Linked DNA regions of Homo sapiens: regions 1 and 2 are each linked to region 3. Evidence: promoter capture Hi-C in 16 types of primary human blood cells and fetal thymus (Javierre and others, 2016). All regions are on one chromosome and are shown on one strand. Each heading gives the region's core, a stretch centred on a gene start or on the middle of the fragment in contact. The rest is flanking DNA. Distances are from core to core; before and after follow the strand shown.

Region 1 (2,700 bases), core at 4-2,503, 50 kb before region 3:
TGGACAGAGGCCTTCTGTGCCCCGAGCCACCAGAGCCCTTGCCAGGGGTGTGTCCACCAGGAAGCCCTCCTGAGCCAGCGTGGTGGGGCCCACTAGCAGGCGTGGCCAGGGCAGGCGGCCGAAGCGTGCATGCAGCAGGTGCAGGGTGGGCAGAGCCGCGGGCAGCCCCAGGCCGGGGGCCAGGGTCTGTGCTGGGCCTGATGTCAGGGCCGTGGAATTGCCTGAGGAGCTATCGTGGAAGAGGCCCCAAAACATGGCACCTGCAGGAGACAGAGGGGTCCCTCAGCAGCCGCAGGTCAAGGGTCACTGACTTGTTTCAGTCAAGATCCCTTGACTGAGCCTGGGATCAGGAGTTACTGACCAGGCCTGAGGTCAAAGTTCCACAGACCCGGGCTCAAGGGTCATAGCCTGGGGTTGGACTGCTGCCCAAACCCTAAGTCCTGCTCACTTAGCAGTCTTGAGGTCAGTGCTACTGACTCCCTAAGTTCCAGGTCACTGATCAGGCTGTGGGTTGGGGTTGCAGTCTGGGGTCAGGGGTCACTGACCTAGCCCCGTGGCATGAGGATGCACCACTGCCAGGCACAATGCAGCTCCAACTCCAGCATCCACGACGTTGCCCCCGGCAACAAGCAGCTCTCGGCCTAGGTGGGAGCATGTGGCTGCAGCAAGGAAGGCACTGTCATGCAGCAAGGAGGGGGGCTAGGCTGGGCTGGTGACCCCTGACCCTCCCCTCCCCAAGCCGCCCCCAGCACTGACTGACCTGCAGGGCTGATGATGGCACCGTGGTGGTATACGCCAGGGCCGTGGGAGTGTCCGCCGGGTGGAGGGGCCACAGAGCCCAAGCTTCCTGTCGACCTGCCCTGATTCTGGAGCTGCCTCACAGCCAGGGAGCAGCCAACAGCCAGCAGCAGCAGGGCTGCCACTACACGGGCCCAGGTTCCGGGCAGCCCGCCAGCCTTGTTCCTGCAGAGGGGGGGTGTCCTGAGCCACGGCTGGGACAGAGGGATGCCCAAGGACCCCAAGAGACCCCAGGGAATATTTCCCAAAAGGTTTGATTTAGCAAGAGGAGCACAAGTCAGCCAAGGAGAAAGGGCTTCTTGGCAGCGGGTGCATCTTGGGCAGACATGGGGATGGGAAAGCATCTGGGGAAACTGAGCCTAGCTAGGGAGGGAGCCTCTGGAGGGGAGATTGGTGGGGCAGAGTCCACTCAGGTGGGAGGGAGGCCCAGTGGGGTGTGGCAGGCAGGAGAGAAGGGGCTGGGGAGCAGGCCCAGCCAGGCGTAGTCAGGCCCCAACCTGCCCAGCAGGTGCCTCCTGCACCAGGACTTGGGGGCTGGGGACCTTTGACAAAGCAGCAGATGGGACAGAGGCTGGCTTGGTACAAATGTCCCTCCAGATGCACAGACTTTTGATTGGGTCAGGCCAAGTCTCGGGCTACAGCCTGGGTTTTCCCCCAAATTGACCGTACAGTGCCTGGAGCTAAACCCAGCGGGGAGTCGCCTGGTCCCCCTGAGGGGCTCCAGAGAGAGGGACTTGCCAACCTCAAGCCTGGGGAGCCTGGTGCCCAGACCCCTCCCTTACTTACCTGGAAGAGTCCTGGTGCCTCCGGGGGTTTAGAACCAGCGCCTCTGATGTCTCCTCCTCCTCCACTTCCTCCTCCGACTCCAAGCTTGGCTCCCAGGGCAGCAGCTTCTGATAGACCACGGGCTCTTCTGCCCGCTCCATGGCCCCCCAGTGCTCGCCCCAGCCCTCCTGCCTGCCAGCCTTTCCGGCTGTGTCTCAGAGGCCCTGCCCAAGCCTGGCAGGTGGGAGGTGGCAGCGACCTTGGGGAAGGGTGGGGGTGGAATCCAGAACAGGTCTGGGCAGGGCACGGGGCCAAGGAGGCTGCATGTGAGCCTGCCCCATTAGGACACAAGGCCCGAGGAGCTCTCGCGACAGGGTTCCCGGGGTGACTGCCTGTAAGGGGCCACAGCTCAGTGAGGTCGAGAAGGAGTTCAGCCTTAATGCCACAACCTTGATACTCAGGGCACCTGCTGGGCTCCTCCCCTTGGGGGATGTAGCCCATGGATCCCACCCACCTGGGACTCTAGGGACTGTGGACTTGAATTAGAGCTACGGTTTCACGGTGGCTTGGGTCAGAGCTCCCACGTGCTTGAGTCTGCACGTGACTAGGTTCTGGCGTAGGGGTGTCTGGTCTCTGGCCGGGGTCAAGGCTCAGCCTGTGGCTACTCTGGGTCTGGGTTTCTTTGAGGAGCAACTTGGTTCGTAACTCCCTGTGCGTGTTTTGCGACTCTTGTCCAGAAGGTAGCGCCACAGCCTGGAAACCAACATTTCTAAATTCATTCTGGGATTCCCATCAAGGACTTGTTGCAAAACAGTGCTGTTTGTAACAGTCCCAAATTGGAAAGTGCCCAAACATCCATTATCGTTAGAATGAATGATGTAAGTCACAATGGACCACTCTGCAGCAAAGAGAGTGAGTGATCTACAATTATATGCAATAATATACACAGGTCTGACAAGCATAAGGACGAGGGAAAGCAGCCAGGCAGGAGACAGCGCACGCTATATGCTTTCATTTACACAAAGTACACAAACAGGCAACAACAAAAGAGCAACAACAGTCTGCCCTTAGAAGTCAGATAGTGACTGGAGGAGGTACCAGGGGGTTTCTGGAATGCTGGAGATGTCCTTTCTTTCC
Region 2 (2,791 bases), core at 98-2,597, 33 kb before region 3:
GGGTGACCGATCTGGCTGCTGCACAGGGCCGAGCCGTGTCACCGAGACCTGGCCTGAGCTGCCCCTGCCACTTTCCCGCCCACTGGGACACCAAGCGGTTACCCTGGGCTCAGGAGACACAGAGGGGGTCTTTCCTGCTTCCCTTCCCTCCCTTCTCCTCTTCATCATCCATTGTTTATTCAGCAATTCACTCATTCATCAAGTATTGGCTGATGGAGTGGGGGTGAGTGATGGGGACAGAGGGACAAGGAGACAGGGTCCTGCCCTTTAGAGAGCCCCTCACCTGATAGGGGGGCAGGTGGCCCACACAGACACACCCTAAACAGAGACCACTGCTTGAGAAACACAAGCCCTGCTTTGGAGGAGGAAGATGGGGAGTGCGAGGAGGGATGTGTCCTAGTGGGCACCGTGCAGGGTTAGTGGAGGTAAGGAGGTAAGGACAGGCTTTATCAGGGAGGGCTTCCCGGAGAAGGGGGTGGTTAAGCTGGACCCCGATCTGGAGGATGAGCAGGGATGTGTCCGTTTGAGAAGTAGAAGGCCAGGCACAATCACAGAAGCACGAAAGAGTTTTGTGTTTGTGTGTTTGTGGGCGGCAGCGGCTGAGAAAGGGGGGTTGGAGAGGTGGGTGGGGGGCTGGTTAGGAAGGGCCTTGAATGGCCCCCTCAGGCGTTCCCCTGTTGGCGAGGGGACCCATGAGTCAGGGGTAGGGGTCCTAGCTGGGACAGGTTGTCAAATCAAGACACAGCTGGGGGCTATAGGGGAAGCGGCAGCTTGATGGCACCTCCGGGCCTTGCCGAGGAGGGGCTGGTGCCTCCGAGACCTCCCCCGCCAGCCCCAGCCCCAGTTAGTCTCCACGGTACTTTTGAGGAAGCCCCGCTGATCTATGGGCTGCAGCGGCTCCAGTGGGCTCCAGGCCCAGGGCTCAGCCCAGCCCCTGCCTTGGCCTGGCCTCCCCACCCCCACTGCCCACTCTGACTGACGCAGCCTTTTGCTGGGCTGAAAGCAGACACTGCCTGTGAGGCCCCTGGGGAAGGCCCAGGGGGCAGAGCCCCGGAGCTCGGGCTCCTCTTGTCCTGAAGGCTGCTGAGCCGGGGCCTATGAATAACCCCTCCCCCGGCCCCGTCTCTGAGAAGGGGGAAGGGAGGCAGGCCCAGGCCAGGCTGAAGGCACCAGGTCTTTTGGTGGGAAGCTGTGGAGGGGGTGAGGGAAGAAGGGGACAGGGCCCACGGTTGGAGATCCTCTGGGCTGGAGCAGTCAAGCTCCACAGGGAGAGTGCGTGCAGGGACTGTTGTTGTAAGAGGAGCGGCCAGTCCTCCTTCCTCCCATCTCTGGGTGGGTTTCCGGAGGTCCAAGAGTCCGGATATGAGCTCTGAGGGCCACCCAGGCTGGGCCTGGCCTGCCCCCAGAGACCCCCTCTTCAATTCCCAGTGGCCCAGGACAAACTTGTCCCTGCTTTGCCTGAAGACCTTAAACATGTGCCTGTTCTTCCTGGACTCAGTCTCCCCTCCTGGCTTTGCAGTTTTCAGGGTGGGAGCTGAGTGGGTCAGTGTAGAGCCCTCTCCAGGCCATGGGGCCAGGGCTTAGGGGCTGGGACCCAAGGGGGAGGATCCTGGAAATGGAAAATCTGAGCCCAACAGCCTTATCTGGGCTGGAAGCAGCTGTCTCCACCCCACACCCTGCGCAGCCCCCGCCTCTTGGGGGAGGACAGCAGCCCCTCTGTGCAGGAATAGGTGGTGTTTGTTCAACGGGTAGCCTGGGCCTCCGCAGAGGCCTGTGGGAAATTCTTCCTTAGTGGGGTCAAGAGGTTGGTGCAGGAGGGCAAGAAACTCTGCTCACTCTCTTCTTTCCCCACATCACAGCCATCCTGATTTTTTTTTTTAGATGGAGTCTGGATCTGTCATCCAGGCTGGAGTGCACTGCAACCTCCACTTCCCCAGTTCAAACGATTCTCGTGCCTCAGCCTCCCAAGTAGCTGGGATTACAGGCGCATGCCACCACGCCCAGCTAATTTTTTGCATTTTTAGTAGAGATGGATTTTCTTCTTTCTTTTTTTTTTTTTTTTTCCTGTTTAACAAAGCACATCTTGCACCGCCCTTAATCCATTTAACCCTGAGTGGACACAGCACATGTTTCAGAGAGCACAGGGTTGGGGGTAAGGTCACAGATCAACAGGATCCCAAGGCAGAAGAATTTTTCTTAGTACAGAACAAAATGAAGTCTCCCATATCTACTTCTTTCTACACAGACACGGCAACCAACCGATTTCTCAATCTTTTCCCCACTTTTCCCCCTTTTCTATTCCACAAAACTGCCATTGTCATCCTGGCCCGTTCTCAATGAGCTGTTGGGTACACCTCCCAGACGGGGTGGTGGCCGGGCAGAGGGGCTCCTCACTTCCCAGTAGGGGCGGCCAGGCAGAGGCGCCCCTCACCTCCCGGACGGGGCAGCTGGCCGGGCGGGGGGCTGACCCCCTCACCTCCCTCCCGGACAGGGTGGCTGCCGGGCGGAGACGCTCCCCACCTCCCGGATGGGGTGGCTGCGGGGCGGAGGGGCTCCTCACCTCTCATACGGGGTGGCTGCCGGGCAGAGGGTCTCCTCACTTCCCAGACAGGGCGGCCGGGCAGAGACGCTCCTCACCTCCCAGACGGGGTGGCAGCCGTGCAGAGGCTGCACTCTGGGCACTTTGGGAGGCCAAGGCAGGCGGCTGGGAGGTGGAGGTTGTAGCGAGCCGAGATCACGCCACTGCACTCCAGCCTGGGCACCATTGAGCACTGAGTGAACCAGACACCGT
Region 3 (2,700 bases), core at 96-2,595:
AGGTTAGGGTTTCAAACCTGAAGCCAATCTGGGAACACAAGGGCTCTGTAAAAAGCATGGCTATATGTTACTGAGTCCTCGCACACGTTAAATGGAGCTCTCCCGAGTTGCAGACATGGCCGTACGCTCTGCGCATGAAACAGAGCAGATCCTGCCAGAATGCAGAACAATTTCTTTTAAACTTTAGGAATGGTGTCCCTCATGTCTCACATTCAGAATGAGACAGACTCGAGTTTTTAAAGTTGGTTCCATGATGTTCTTGTCTGTGGTCTTTGTTGGGGGTGGGGGGTGAGAGATCATAAGACAGTTTGTGAGTTTCAAACATGATTTTACCTCTAAGACAAAGCATGAGAAGAAAATCCAGGAAGGTCTCACAATCCTAAGATATTTGGAAACCACCGTTTTAGGTCGGGGTTACGTGAATGTTCCCCATTTGTGAGACCCAATTTCATCTTGCTTTCTACCCTGGTATGGAGGAATTCACATCTTTTTTCCCCTTTCCCGAGAGAATTATTTCTTGGAGCTGCTCATAAGAGTCTTCTGTTTTTCCAGATAGATTCCTTCACCTGGATTTTGTTAAACTTATTAAGTCGGACCAAATTGGCTTGTGTGTTTCCCTGAAGTGAACGTTTCACCAGAGCCACGATGGGTTTTAGCTTTTCTGATAGCTGATGGATATTTTTCAAGGCAAGCGAGAGCCTATAAGCACTTTCTGAATATGACAGAGCACATGCTGGTGAGAGGAGACCGCACAGGCCAGGTGTTTGGGGAACAGTTTGTTAAAGCCAATGAATTTCGCAAATGTGCTAGATGATGAAGAGTTCTCAGCTTTCCCGGTTGCAGTGATCAGAACTCTGTAACTGGAGACCGGTGTGAGAGAAGATTTTATTCTCTGCCATCATGACCGGGTCTATACGACTGCAGGCAATTGCACAGAAGACTAGAAATGCTGATTCAGTTGGTCAGTTTGGGGTGGGACATCTTACCAGTCCAGCAGAACCAACTCTGGCTTGGGTTTTTCTAGCTGGTGACAGGTGACCAACTCATTCTGATGAGTTGATTACGCCTGTGGACGTGGCCCACTTGATTTATTTTTTCTCCCTCTGTTAGCTGTGCTCTCCCAACCACCTGATAAATGGACCCAGTATGATTATTTCTGAGCCATCTTATCTCTCTCACTTTTAAAGCTTGGATTGGGTTTGCTTTTAGAGCTTTTGATCTCTTATCTCTTGGTTCTTGGACTTGCTTTGATACCAAACAGCCCTCATAGTCTTTTGAAAGAACACCTTAAAAATTCCTAGGCTGGGCGCGGTGGCTCATGCCTGTAGTCCTAGCACTTTGGGAGGCCGAGACAGGACAAATATTTGAGCTCTGGAGTTTGAGACCAGCCTGGGCAACAGAGTGAGACTCTGTCTCTACAGAAAGTTTTAAAATTAGCCAGGTGTAGTGACACATGCTTGTAGTCCCCATTACTTGGAAGGCCAAGGCGGGAGGATGGCTTGAGCCTGGGAGGTCAAGGCATCAGTGAGCGATGGTTGTGCCACTGCCTGGAGATAGAGTGAGACCCTGTCTCAAAAAAGAAAGAAAGAAAGAAAGAAAAATCCCTAAGACCTGACCTGCCTACTCCCTAGAAAGCACCAAATAAGGAAAAGCACTCCGGAAGAATGAAGCTAAGAAGGCTGTGCTCTCTGAGGCATCCGGGCAGCCTTCACTGGAGGGACAAGGTCCAGGTAGGTGGGATGACAAGCTGGGAAGGGGCCCTGAACCAGAGGCAGGTGATGTGGGTGGTGGCACCAGAGAGACACCAGACAGTGTTACCGTAGGTCTTGACTGTCCACCTTCATTCCTGAAGTTGATCCAGCTTTCTTACTGTCACGTAGGTGGATATAAAATCGATCTTTAGGGTTCTGATTTTTTGTTTGTTTTTGTTTTTTTTGAGACGGAGTCTCACTCTGTCACCCAGGCTGGAGTGCAGTGGCACAATCTTGGCTCACTGCAACCTCCACCTCCCAGGTTCAAGCGATTCTCGTGCCTCAGCCTCCTGTGTAGCTGGATGTACAGGCGCCCGCCACCATGCCAGGCTAATTTTTGTATTTTTAGTACAGACGGGGTTTCACCATGTTGGTCAGGCTGGTCTCGAACTCCTGACCTCAAGTGATCCGCCTGCCTTGGCCTCCCAAAGTGCTGGGATTACAGGCATGAGCCACTGCGCCCGGCCGGGGATCTGAGTTTTAATCACTCCCAGTGCAAGCGTCCTTATCTGGTTTGCAGACTGAGTGGCATTTGTGCTGCCGAGGCTCTTCCTGGCTTGCCCTCCTCTCTGGCTGTTGCTTTCCCTCCTCTGTTCATTAGAGCCTCCTCTCCTCGGCTTGTTGCTCCTATGTGCTGTGACCTAAGCTCTATGCTCCTTCTTCTACATTAGGGTTCATAGCCCAGGACTTTGGGGAGTCTGTGGATGTCCAAATTGAGTGTTTTACCTCAATTTGGTTGAGGTTGCAGTGAGCCGAGATTGAGCCATTGCACTCCAGCCTGGGCAACAAGAGTGAAACTCTGTCTCAAAAAATTGTATTTCTGGCCGGGCGCGGTGGCTCACGCCTGTAATCCCAGCACTTTGGGAGGCCGAGGCAGACGAATCACGAGGTCAGGGGATCGAGACCATCCTGGCTAGTACGGTGAAACCCCCGTCTCTACTAAAAATAC

Evidence for each region. Contacts are between HindIII fragments. The CHiCAGO score rates a contact against its expected background, and 5 or more counts as called.
Region 1: a fragment that was not itself captured here is called in contact with the fragment with the promoter of LINC01996 in region 3 in 2 of 17 cell types (M0 macrophages and M1 macrophages); the score reaches 6.7 in M0 macrophages.
Region 2: a contact is called between a fragment that was not itself captured here and the fragment with the promoter of LINC01996 in region 3, in 2 of 17 cell types (M0 macrophages and M2 macrophages). The highest score is 7.0, in M0 macrophages.

What each region holds. Positions count from the first base shown.
Region 1 is chr17:4,558,798-4,561,497 of GRCh38, forward strand. It overlaps GGT6 (gamma-glutamyltransferase 6), which reads right to left and starts at 1,780. Exons shown (of 4, transcript NM_001288702.2): 1 at 1,585-1,780; 2 at 761-963; 3 at 546-659; 4 at 1-260. The coding sequence starts at 1,724. The HindIII fragment of the contact is 825 bases long and covers 842-1,666 here.
Region 2 is chr17:4,575,974-4,578,764 of GRCh38, forward strand. No RefSeq gene overlaps it. Among named protein-coding and RNA genes, the nearest start is that of SMTNL2, 7.2 kb to the right of the region's middle. The HindIII fragment of the contact is 9,660 bases long and covers 1-2,791 here.
Region 3 is chr17:4,609,104-4,611,803 of GRCh38, forward strand. It overlaps LINC01996 (long intergenic non-protein coding RNA 1996), which reads left to right and starts at 1,346. Exons shown (of 2, transcript NR_145431.1): 1 at 1,346-1,730. The HindIII fragment of the contact is 12,447 bases long and covers 1,186-2,700 here.